Linked DNA regions of Homo sapiens: regions 1 and 2 are each linked to region 3. The links are contacts of gene promoters, found by promoter capture Hi-C in human tissues and cell types (Jung and others, 2019). All regions are on one chromosome and are shown on one strand. The core of a region is centred on a gene start or on the middle of the fragment in contact, and the rest is flanking DNA. Distances in the headings are between cores, read along the strand shown.

The links. The method cuts DNA at HindIII sites, captures the fragments that hold promoters and counts their contacts. A contact is called where the count stands out against the background at its distance.
Region 1: a fragment that was not itself captured here is called in contact with the fragment with the promoter of SCARF1 in region 3 in 1 of the 25 tissues and cell types used here (dorsolateral prefrontal cortex).
Region 2: a fragment that was not itself captured here is called in contact with the fragment with the promoter of SCARF1 in region 3 in 1 of the 25 tissues and cell types used here (dorsolateral prefrontal cortex).

Annotation. Positions count from the first base shown.
Region 1 is chr17:2,220,621-2,224,739 of GRCh38, forward strand. All of the region lies in intron 10 of SMG6 (SMG6 nonsense mediated mRNA decay factor), which reads right to left. Among named protein-coding and RNA genes, the nearest start is that of SMG6, 81 kb to the right of the region's middle. The HindIII fragment of the contact is 7,215 bases long and covers 1-4,119 here.
Region 2 is chr17:2,262,146-2,266,176 of GRCh38, forward strand. All of the region lies in intron 8 of SMG6 (SMG6 nonsense mediated mRNA decay factor), which reads right to left. Among named protein-coding and RNA genes, the nearest start is that of SMG6, 40 kb to the right of the region's middle. RefSeq lists an enhancer at 3,762-3,971. The HindIII fragment of the contact is 5,334 bases long and covers 1-4,031 here.
Region 3 is chr17:1,643,358-1,647,398 of GRCh38, forward strand. SCARF1 (scavenger receptor class F member 1) reads right to left here and starts at 2,375. Exons shown (of 11, transcript NM_003693.4): 1 at 2,240-2,375; 2 at 1,821-1,882; 3 at 1,477-1,578; 4 at 85-610. The coding sequence starts at 2,340. It overlaps RILP (Rab interacting lysosomal protein), which reads right to left. Exons shown (of 8, transcript NM_031430.3): 7 at 3,549-3,632; 8 at 2,793-3,262. The coding sequence ends at 3,085. The HindIII fragment of the contact is 19,188 bases long and covers 1-4,041 here.

The DNA of each region.
Region 1 (4,119 bases), core at 921-3,420, 580 kb after region 3:
ATACATAACAATAAAAACATTCATATGAGAACATGATTCAGTTTATACTAGGTTGGTACAAAAGTAATTGCACTTTTTGCCATTACTATTATTTGTATGTAAATTACAAATGTTTACAAAGAATTTTATAGCTTTGTATACTTGTAAGTAAAAATAGTAGAATCAAACATTGTATAGTCAGTATCTTTTCAACTGTGTAAAAACTCCTTGAATATTTATACATCGTATAGGAAAGAATGTCACTGCCAGAAGTTGGTTTCTACTTTACCTTTTTTAGTACTTTCAATGAAACCCAAAATGTTAAATCCTTTAAAAAAAATCATTTAGTTTTCATAAATAGGACAGAATTGCTCCAGTTAGGTGAATGTAAAAATATGATATATGAGTAGGGAAATAAAAAAGTATTTCTAGTCAGGAAGAAAGGACAGAGAGTAAAAGATGAAAGATTCAAGAGACCAGAAAGGACTGAACTTACGCTGTTCTATAGAAATTTACTTTCCAGAGCCCCAATGATATTTACTCCAGGGTTAAGAGCTGATATGGTTTGGATTGTGTCTCCACTCAAATCTCATGATGAATTGTAATTTCCAGTGCTGGAGGTGGGGCCTGGTAGGAGGTGACTGCATCCTGGGGTGGTTTCTGATGGTTTAGCACCATCCTCCTGGTGCTATCTCCTGATGGAGCTCTCGGGACATCTGGTTGTTTTAAAGTCTGTAGCCCCTCCCCCTTCACTCTCTTCCTCCTGCTCCAGCCATGGAAGACGTGCCTCCTTCCTCTTTGCCTTCCACCATGATTGTGATTCTCCTGAGGCCTCCCTAGCCATGTTTCCTGTACAGCCTGTGGAACTATGAGCCAATTAAACTTCTTTTCTTTATAAATTACCCAGCCTCAGGTATGTCTTTATGGCAGTATGAGAAAGGATTAATACAACAGTAGATACCAAAGCACATTTAATGGATTTTACTTTAATGCCAGATGTAAAATATGCATTTGGAAATTATGCTTTCAAGAAAGTCACCTTAACAAAAAACAAGGAAAGACAGTAAGATTATGAGCAGTAACCTAGTTAACAGATGCCCCTGCCCTTGCCATTCAATCTTCATTGTCCAGGCTGACCTGCTGACAGATTATTCTTTTTTTTGAGACGGAGTCTTGCAATGTTGCCCAGGCTGGAGTGCAATGGGGTGATCTCGGCTCACTGCAAGCTCCACCTCCCGGGTTAACGCCAGTCTCCTGCCTCAGCCTCCCAAGTAGCTGGGATTACTACCATGCCTGGCTAATTTTTGTATTTTTTAGTAAAGACAGGGTTTCGCCATGTTGGCCAGGCTGGTCTTGAATTCCTGAGCTCAAGTGATCCACCTGCACTGGCCTCCCAAAGAGCTGGGATTACAGACGTCGGCCACGGCACCTGGCCTCAAATTATTCTTTGACTTGAACTTGATATAACGCATGTTTACTGAGAAGTTACAACAGGTCAGGGACTGTTTTAGATGTTCACAATGTATCAGTGGATAAAACAGACCAGAGACCCCTATAAGCAGGGAGCTTACATTCTTGCAGAATAGTAGAGGAAAATAAATAATAAACATATACACATTAATTATCTAGTATTTAGAAAATAAATCAATAGAATTGGAAGATAAAGAGTGCAGGTTTGGAGTAGAATGCAGCAGTGTTAAATAGGATGGTTGGGGCAGGTCTCACAGAAGTAACATTAAGCAAAGACTTATAGGAGGCGAGGTATTCACCAGACAGATGGCTGGATGCAGAACATTCCAAACAGAGAAAACAGCTAATGCGAAGGGCCAAAGGTGGGAGAGTCCCCAGCTTAGCAGAGAACTTGCAAGAAGGGTAGTGTGGCTGAAGCAGAGTAACCAAGCCATGGGGAGAACAGTCGTGAATGAGCTCAGAGAGAGGCAATGCGGGGGCGGGGGGGGGGGGGGGGGGCAGGAGAAGAGGTCCATATATGAAGGCCTTGTAAATAATGTGGCTTTTACACTGAGTGAAATGGGAAGTCAGTGAAGGATTTTGAACACAGCAGACTCTGTATGTAATGTGTCTGTGTGTGCATGTTTGGGAAGGAACGAGAGAGGTAAGGGGTACAAAAAGAGACCACTTAGGAGTTTCAAGACTTTCTTTCCAAGTTTAAAAAGAAGTTTTATCCACAAGGGGTATTCAGGCCATGTTTGCAAACACAGGTTTTCTCTTCCAATGAGGAATATTGAAGAATGTGTCAATGGCCTACAACTGTATCCCTAGCAGGCATCTGAAAAATAATACTTACGAAACATTTTCCTCTGCTCATTGCCCTGACATGAGTTCTGGGCATCACCCTCTCTCAGGGGAGAGGTGAAAAGAGGTTATGTGGAACAGACAGTGATAACAGGATGACGTCACAGGTGTGCCTCAAAGAAGTCCCTGGTGAGCTGGGCTCATAACTACTCTGCAGTGATTTATTCGACCCTGCCAGCTCCAGCTGGAGAAGAGATGCAGAAAGCTGACACAGCCTAAAGCCCTGGGCAGGCATTATAAGATCTTTCTCCCTGCAGTCCCCTGCCAGCTCCTCCCCTCTTTCAACCACTGATCCTTGCCTCAGAAGCCAAAGTGTGAACAGCACGTGTCCGGATTTCAGAAACCTGCCCAGCAGTTGGAAATTCCCTGCAGCGTGTCAACTGCTACATCTGCTGTTGGCACTTGGGGCAAAGGGATCACACGCGCATATTTTCTGAACATAAGCTTCAAGATATGAGTCTTATATTTGAAGAGGGGACTAAACAAGCCAGAACACTCCAATTACAGTAAATGCATTCCTAAATAGACGACAATCTGCCTTCTGAAAAGGAAACTGAGACATACAAGCAAACCGAATAGCACTAAGAACAGCAGTAGTCAAGAACAAAAGCACAGAGAACCCTGACTAATGGAAAGGATTTCATGGGCCAGCAAGGTTCACCAGATATATAATGTGATGTAGCTGAAACAACAGAGTACTCTTTTCCAAATCTCTAACTCACATCTTTTTGTCAATAAATGGCTCCTATCACTTCAGCTGCAGCCTTTCCTCTCCACTCCTTTGATCTTTCTTCCCCACCCAATTAGCCCTCTAAGTGATATTCTATACACTGGACACCTCTTGGAAAAATGAAAAAATGTGAGCCCAATGACACCATTTGCCATAAGACTGAGCTGTAAATGGGCAGGAGCTGGAAAAGAAACTAATCTTTGGAAGAGCAAACTACATGCCCTTGCCACCCTGGATGTAGGTGCCCAGTCACACTGCTCATGGGCATCACAGGCAGAGCAAAAAAAAAGAAAAGAAAAGAAAGAAAGTCTGAGTAAGTCTGATGGAACAAGGAAATCCCAGCTTCCTCTGGTAGTACGGCAGACTAGACACCTAGATCCATTCTCCCAATCAAACAGCTCATTATTCTGAAAAAAAGAGTATGTTAAACATCTTTTTGAAAAGCATTCGTGAGCTAGTAAAATAAAAGAAAATCCTTTGGTCAGAGATTGAATAAAGATGGGAAACCAGATAGGTAAGTGTGGCATTACAAACAGCCTTTACCCTAAGAACATTTGCTACCTGATGAACTCGAGCTTTGCTTTCCAAGGCTGCATGGACACAGCCAAGATCCTTATCATAAAGCTAGGGTCCCACAAGGCTACACCCCAAATACACCATTTCAGATTATGGAGTCTCTAAAATGCCATGTTGAATATATTTTAGAGAAATAAAAGACAAGCTCACAAGTATATTTGGGAAATAAGAAACCATAAAGAAAGTCAAAGCAGATTTGATTTAAAAAATATATGGAAATAAAAAATTTATTAAAATTAAAAACATTGTCAATGGGGCATATTTAATAGAAGGTTAGATATAGCTATGGAAAGGTTCAATGAACTGAAAGATAGTTAAGGAAATTATCTGGAATGTAGCACAAAAAGAAGGGAGTCAGAAAAATCAAAGAAAGGTTTAAGAGACATCAAAAACTAAGCCTGATGTATGTCTTATCAGGGTCACAGAAGGAGAAGAGAAAGCATGGGGAGATGCAGTCTTTGAAAAAAGACACTAAGAGTTTTCCAAAACTGATAGGAAAACCAACCAACCAACCAACCAAC
Region 2 (4,031 bases), core at 331-2,830, 620 kb after region 3:
AGCTGCAGTCCTACTGTGTGTGTGAAAGTCAAGAATAGGACTTAGTGCCAATGATTACAACACAAAGCATAACTTATTCCTAAGCCAAGCTGGGCTTGGCTCAGAAAGCTTCCCAGAATGATGGAAGGCATGACTTTAGAGTGAGTCAACCTTTGCTAATACATAAAATAAAGCAGAGAAAGAACTATTTGAAGGATTCACTTCTAAGCTTGAGCCAAATCAAAAGCTCAAATCTATCTACATTGTGATGAATCTTCAGTTCCAACTGAGTGATCAGACAGCACCAATGTGGACATCTGTACCATGGCCCAAGACATTATAATGACAGAATCTTGGCTGGGAATCTCAGAAGCAACCATTCCTTGCAGTTTCGAACCATGCTATGTTTTTATCCATGTTGTTCCTTCTGCCAGAAAAGTCAGCTGACCACATCTACCTAAAATACTTCTTTGACTTGCAAAATTAAGGACAAAGATTACCTTTCTAGGTCGCTCTACCTGTTCACCCTGAGTTAATCTCTTTTACCTCTGTCCAGTGTATATATTTCTATTATTACATTTATAACACTTTATTGCAAGTATTTATTTACATATCCTTTTTTCTTACTAGACTGTGTTTTTGAGGGAAGGACCAACATCACTTACTTTTCTGTGTGCAGTACCTAGAATAACAATATATAAAGGTGCTCCATGAATATTTATGGAAATGACCTGAATTGGGACAGGGAAAAACTTGATTTCCTCAGAGACTACTAGCTGGCCTCAGAGGAGGTTTTACAGCAAAATGGGCAAGTGAAAAGAGAAAAAATATCTATATAAAACTTTGAAGCCACTTATTTTAGGCAACATACAAAGGTATATACTATACTGTAAGATAAAATAGATAAAAACAAGAAAGAGAAGCCAAAGAGAAAAAGATAAAGAGGTCACCAAACAGTAAGGTCACGACCGAAGATAAACGCCCTTTACACTTACTAAAGGAAGTTTGGCTACAACCTCTGGAACAATTAAAATAGAGAATCATTCTGGGTTAAAAATTCACAAATTTGCTATTATAACAATCTTACAAATGTGCATGAGGTTGAAGAAACCCATTTTCTACTAAGAGCAGAAATTTCTTCCACAGGCTTCCACAAAGACACCACGCAACACAAACAGCAATCCTTCTCTAGGTCTCTTTTTTATGTATCTTCATAGAGGCTGATGACACACTCAAGTACAAATCAGTAAAAGCAGTACTACTAGTAACCAATGTTACCTAGTTACATAGCTCTCTGATGGTTCTAAGCATGAACGACACGGAAAAAACAGTAGCAGGAGAGGTGCCTAGTGATTTCTATAATAAATGCTCAACAAATTTTGGATCAGAAGATGGAAGACAACTCAAAAAACCACTTAAGCTCTTAAAAATAAAAATGTGTGGTTAATACATTTTATAGGAACCAAAACATCAGAAAGACAGAGGGTACAGATAGTATTTTAAATTCTTTCTGGTCTAGAGAGTCTATCCACTCATACTAGGGAGAAAAAAAAGAGCACAGTTCACTTCAATACTAAATATTTATGAGTAAAGTGAAAGGCTTCCAAGAGGGGAAGAACCTGGAGTTTCCCCCTGGAGTCAAACAAACAGCCCGCAGACTGGGGAAGGATCACGAGCCAAGAAAACAACGATTTCATATTCTCTATCTTAGCTCAAATACATCAGATCTAAGATGTTGAAAAGAGGGTAGAGAGATGAAATTCTGGCACCTTTAAGAGCAAAGAGGGATTTTACAGAATGATCAAACTATGGATACAGCTCCCCAAGAGAACAGTCAGAAACAAAAACCAATATAGGAAGTTGGTGAGAAACGCAACACGGGAAAAACATAAAGGGTAGTGCAGTCTTACCCCACATAACAGGCAGTGTGTTACTATATAAAGTGAGCTGCTCCCAGAGTAACATCACCTCACTACTCCTTCCTATAGCAGCTGCAGATTGAACAAGGATCCAATGTACAGGTCTCATTCTTATTTGGAAGGCTCTTCACAGACCACAAGCTGGATCCTAAGGGACGATTTATAGTACCCCCTCACGTACATTCCAGTTGGCTGGAACTCAGCAGCTGATTGCTCCCTTGTCTAACTTGGCAAGGAGCCAAAGGAGGACTTTTCTCAGTCAACTCTCCCAAGCTGGAAAATTCTCTAATGCCAGAGTTCTGGCTTAAGTCGGGATATCAGGTTATTCATGAGATGCCAAAACTACATCTTTACATTGGCTTTGAACAAGTCCCTCAAGTACACCATACAGATTCCCACAGACCTCAAAATCATCTGGATATTAAGGCCAAAGATGGCTACTCCATCTCTCACATAGAGAGGAATGTGCTTTTCACAACACCAGCAACATCAAAACAAACCTTTCATAAATCACAAATCAATCTCAATTCTTAAAATAGGTGTCAAGCAACAAACGCAACATTAAATTACTTCCTAGGCTGGACACAGTGACTCATAGCTATAATCTCAGCACTTTGGGAGGCTGAGGTGGGTGGATCGCTTGAGCCCAGGAGTTTGAGACCAGCCTGACCCACATGGTGAAACCCCGTCTCTACGGAAAATACAAAAATTAGCTGGGCATGGTGGTGTGTGCCTGTAGTCCCAGCTACTCAGGAGGCTGGGAGGGGAGGATTGCTTGAGCCCAGGAGGCGAAGGTTGCAGTGAGCTGAGATCGCGCCACTGCATTCCAGCCTGGGTGACAGAACGAAACCCCATCTCAAAAAAAAAAAAAAAATTTCCTTAAAATCTTGTATTCCACCCTACTGAAAACTCTCCCTATTCCACTAGCTACTCAAATTCTCTCACTATTGTTAATCCCTAGGCCATCAAGATCCAAATCCCAAGTCAGGTTCTCTGAGAGGAAATGAAGGAGTAAACCTTAACAAAATGTTTTTGACCTTGTCAAGCTTCAAAAGTAGTGGTTCTCAACCAGAATATGACCACCCATCCCAGGAACTGTTTGGAAGTATGTGTGGGCCGTTACTGGCATCTAATGAGCAGAGCCAGGAACGCTAAACATCCTGCAAGGTCAGACCTGCATAATGAAGAACTGTCGGCCGGGCACAGTGGCTCAAGCCTGTAATCCCAGCACTTTGGGAGGCTGACCACCTGAGGTCAGGAGTTCGAGACCAGACTGGCCAACATGGCGAAACACCATCTCTTCTAAAAATACAAAAATTAGCAGCGGGTGGTGACAGGAGCCTGTAGTCCCAGCTACTGGGGAGGCTGAGGCAGGAGAAACGCTTGAACCTGGGAGGCGGAGGTTGCAGTGAGCTGAGATTGCGCCACTGCACTCCAGCCTGGACAACAGAGCAAGACTGCCTCTCAAAAAAAAAAAACTGTCTGCTTAAAAGGCGATAACATTCTCATTAACAATCAATTTCCTAACAGAAGAACCTTATCATTAACTGCATTCACCTCTCCCAGCTTTTACAGCAGTGGTAAATTTTTTCTGTAAAAGGTCACAGAAAATAATTTAGGCTTCGTGAGCCACGTACATCTCTGTCTCGTGTTGCTCTTTTTAAACAACTCCTGACATAAGAATGTAAAAACCATTCTTAGCTCATAGGCCACTGGCAATATTTTGCCCATCCCTGTTCTAGGGTATTACCTGAATCATTAGTCTGTTTATATTAATTTAGAGATGCTGGTTAAAATAAAGTGTGATGGAGTATGCTATAAACAACACCAATAATGCATATGACAATCTTAAAGAATGAAATATGAACTTCAGAACTTAGCCTTACCACCTAAGAACTGGTGCATGTGTTGGGCTTCTAATCACCTCTCATTCTCGTCCCCTGTGCATTTCAGGTGCTTTAGGTTTTCTTCTGAATGTTCATTTTCAAACACTTTACCAGGAAGAGCACAGAAATGCCTTTCCCCCCTCTTCAGGATCTAGTACTTTCTGTTCACCATGCGTGCCACTCAAAGTCTTTTACAATTATTGCTGTTAACATCTTCTAAAATGTCTAAACCAAACCAAGGCCTGGA
Region 3 (4,041 bases), core at 1,125-3,624:
CCCCCTGTCTCCGCCCCGCCCCGCCTGCTCACTTGTGTCCGCCCCCGCCCCGCCAGCCCACCTGTCCCCGCCCCGCCCGCTCACCTGTGTGCGCACTGCACCCCGTGGCTGCCTGCCGGGCAGGGCAGCTCGCAGCGCGCTCCGCGGAAGCCGGGCGGGCAGGTGCACTCGCCGGAGGCGGCGCTGCAGCGGCCCCGCACACACTCGCACTGCTGCTGGCATTCGGGACCCCACCAGCCCGGCCGGCAGGCGCAGCGGCCGGAGTCCTGCTCGCACGGGGAGCCGTGGCAGTTGCAGCGGAAGCTGCAGCGGCGCCCCCACCAGCCCGGCTTGCACACGCAGGCGCCCGTGGCCTGCTCGCAGCGCGCCGCCGCGGTGTTGCACTGGCACGGGCGGCGGCACGTGGACGACCACCAGCCGGGTTCGCAGTGGCACACGCCGGTCGCGGGGTCGCAGCGCCCGTGGGGGCCGCAGGCGCACGGGAACTCGCAGCGGGCTCCCCAGCGGTCGGCCTGGCACTGGCACGCGCCCGTGGCTGGCTCGCACTGGCCGTGCGGGTGGCAGGGGCAGCTCTCACGGCAGTCGGGGCCCCAGTACTGGCCCGGGCAGCCTGCGGGGGTGGGGACGGGAGGGGTCAGCGGGCTCAGGGCCGCGCGCAGACCCTTACCCTGCGTCCCCTTCCTCAAGGAAAAGGGGCGCTGGGCCCATCCTCCAAGAGCCGGGGACAGACCCTCAGAACATCCGGCAGCCTGTCCTGGGCAACACTCACTTCCTGCTCCGCTCTGACCTACAGAAAACCCTTAGCCATTAGTGGGAGGCTCAGCCTGCCACTTCACATTCCAGAACACACTCAGAGATCCTGAGTGGGCAGGGGACTTGCCCAGAGCGTGGCACCGAGGTTGGTGGGCCTTCCTCCATGCCTGCTCCTCCCTGCCGAGATGGATCTCTGCTGGGCTGGAGGAGAGCTGGCTTTCTCCTGATCTCAGGCCTGGATACTGCCCGCCAGGGTGTCGGGAGAAGCCACCTTTCCCCTAGTGATTCCTTGATTCCTGATGCCCACCCTCTGGCTCTCCTGCTTCCCAACCCCTTTCCCTTCCCTCTCTTTCTGCCAGAGAGGGCAGAGAGCCCAGCCAGGGGCCCCCTTCCATCCACTGCCCATGTATAAGGTATATGTGGGAAAGGCAAGTAATACACTCATTTTACAATGAAGGGGAATCACAGGTTTTCTGAGAAGTGGAAGAGGAAGATGCTCAGGTGGGCAGTGCTTTGTGGATGTGGGTAAAAACCCGGTGACTCAGGTCATCTCCCGGGAGTGTGTGTCACTTCCTGTCTCTGGACCGCAATTCCTCAGTGAAGCTGGGGGGGATTCTGGCCCTGCTGTCCTGAGGCTGCATGGCTACCTGCCTCGCCTGCTCCCACACCACTGCCCCCGTACCCAGCTCTGCCCAGCAACTTCATCTGGCCCTTGAGACTCACGGGAGCTGCAGTGGGCCCCAAAGAATCCAGGCTTGCATCGACAGAGGCCCGGCTTCACACACACCTCGTCTTTCTGGCAGGCGTCCGGCCCCTCACAGATGGCTGAAAGACACCCCACCCAGGTTGGAAAGACGGGAGCAGGACCAGGGGACACCCCTGCCCTCTCACTGGCTCCAGGGGCCATGCCTCCTCAAGAGGTGCCCCTTCAGGCCTGGGGGTGCGTCACAGGAGAAACCCTGACTCCTGGTATCAGGAGGGGCAGGCCCCATGGGGTAGGAAGGAAGGGTTGTCACTGGGCTACGGCCTCCCTTCTCCTTGGCTGAGGGTCTGTCCTGGCTACTCACGGATGGTGCATTCTTGATCCTTCTGCCTCCAGCCTGCGCAGCACTGCAGCTCAGCAGAGGGGCTGTGGGGCAAAAAGGGGTCAGCCGGACATGGTGGGGGGTGCAGCCTGGCCCTGAGGAAGGTGGATCACTGTCTCTGGCTGCAGTGGGGGAGGCTGCCTTAGCCCCCTGGGGAGGCCTAATGGATCTTTACAGCTAGGGTCCCCAGCCCCTCCCCTCTCCTTCCCTGACCCTTCCACCATCTGCCCTGGCTGGCCACTACCTGCCAGACCGCCATCAGCAGTCCCTTCCTTTCAGCCTAAGCCCCCTTCCTAGTCTCCTCCTTCCCCTAACGGCCTCAACACCGGTTCAGCCACCCGCATCAGACTCCCACGAGACCCACCTGCTGGCCACACGCATCAGACTCCCACGAGACCCACCTGCTGGCCACACAGACGTGCTGCCCTTTGGGGTCCAGCTCGGACCCCTGAGTCCCCCGAGTCCAGAGCAGCAGCAGCGGGAGCAGCAGCCCCAGCCCCATGGCAGGCAGCTCGGTGGGAGCGCTCGGGTTCGTCTGGCCCCCACAGCTCCCAACCCCCTCCCTGCTTCCTCTCAGGGCTTTTCCTGAGGAAACCAGGCCGGAGGGGCGGGCTGCCACGAGGCACCTCCCTGAGAGGGAGGGGGTGGCTGGAAAGACTGACACTCAAAAAAAGAAAGGGAAAGAAAGGCAATGGCAGGGCTGACTGGCCTGGGCCTGGAAGGGCCAGAAGAATGAAGTTGCAGGTCCCTGGGTGCCGGGGCCAGGGAAGGGGGTGGACTGAGGCTGGGAGCCACGGCTTTCCATCAGGCCACACTCCCAAAGCAAGGCCTGAGCTGCAAGAAGCCACCCCACCCAGTGACTGAGCAAGGAGACCAGCGAGGACCCCTCAGCCTGCCTCTGCTCCTGGCAGGGTTGGGAGGTGGCACAGACATGGACAGACAGGCGAGGAACAGTTTCTGTGTATTACGGGCAGTTCTTTATTACATGAGCTCAGGCCGTCTGCACAAAGCCCTGGGAGCTAGGCAGTCAGCTCTCATTTCATGGATGGGGAAACTGAGACTCAGAGAGGCACTCTTATATCTGGCCCCAGAGGCTCGGTACAGAGACGTAGAGAGGGAGGCGGGCTGAGACCCCGTCCTGCCCTGATGCAGGCCAGGATTGGGGCAGACCCCTGGCGAGGGCTGTGAAGGCGGGAGCCCTGTCCTCATTTGAGGCCACACATCCTTCCACAGCCAGACCCCTAAGTCAGGCCTCTGGGGCGGCTGAGGCCCCCAGACAAAGGTGTTCGTGGAGGGCAGAACAGGGCGGATCAGGAGCTGGAGACTGTGGTTGGGCCTCCTCTTCTCCCCCTAGCTTGCTGGGTGCAGGGCTGCTGGTCTCATCCTCAGAGGATTCAGCTTTACCCCGATACCATAGGCCAAAGCTGGAGAGAGACAGCCAGAGGCACTTTGAGCCAGGAAGCCAGAGAGGTCAAGGATATGGGTGAGGGCAGGGGATGGTGAGAAAAGGGGAGAGGGGGAAGAAAGGGCAGCCTGAGGGAGTGTGAAGGTGATGGGGGCCAGGGCCAGAGAAGCAGGAGGGGACGGTGTGCTTAGAGCCAAGCACAGCAGGGTGACGGGCAGAGAAGCGGGAAAGGGGATCCTGAGAAGGACCAGCCAGGGCCCTTCCTCCCTCCCCACACTCTTGCCTTTCCCCTTTCCCCAACATACAAACTCTGTATTTTGGACTCCGGGGGTGGGGGATGGTCTCCCTTGTCATCGGAGAGCAGGATCCATGGGCCAGCCTCATCCTCACTGAGACAGAGGAGAGAGGAGAAGTGAGGGCCATTGATCAAGGCCCTGAGGGACAACAGGAATCCAGCAGGGGGGATGGAGGGACTGCAGGGCCCCCGGGGCTGGAGAGAAGGCAACCCTGGGGAGATGCAGGATGTCGAGCCTTTAATTTTTAATTTTTTTTTTTTTGAGACAGGGTCTCACTCTGTCGCCCAGGCTGGAGTGCAGTGGTGCGATCTCAGCTCACTGCAACCTCCGCCTCCCAAGTTCAAGCGATTCTCCTGCCGCAGCCTCCTGAGTAGCTGGGATTATAGGCACATGCCACCATGCCCGGCTAATTTTTGTATTTTTAGTAGAGACGGAGTTTCACCATGTTGGCCACGCTGGTCTCGAACTCCTGACCTCAGGTGATCTACCCACCTTAGCCTCT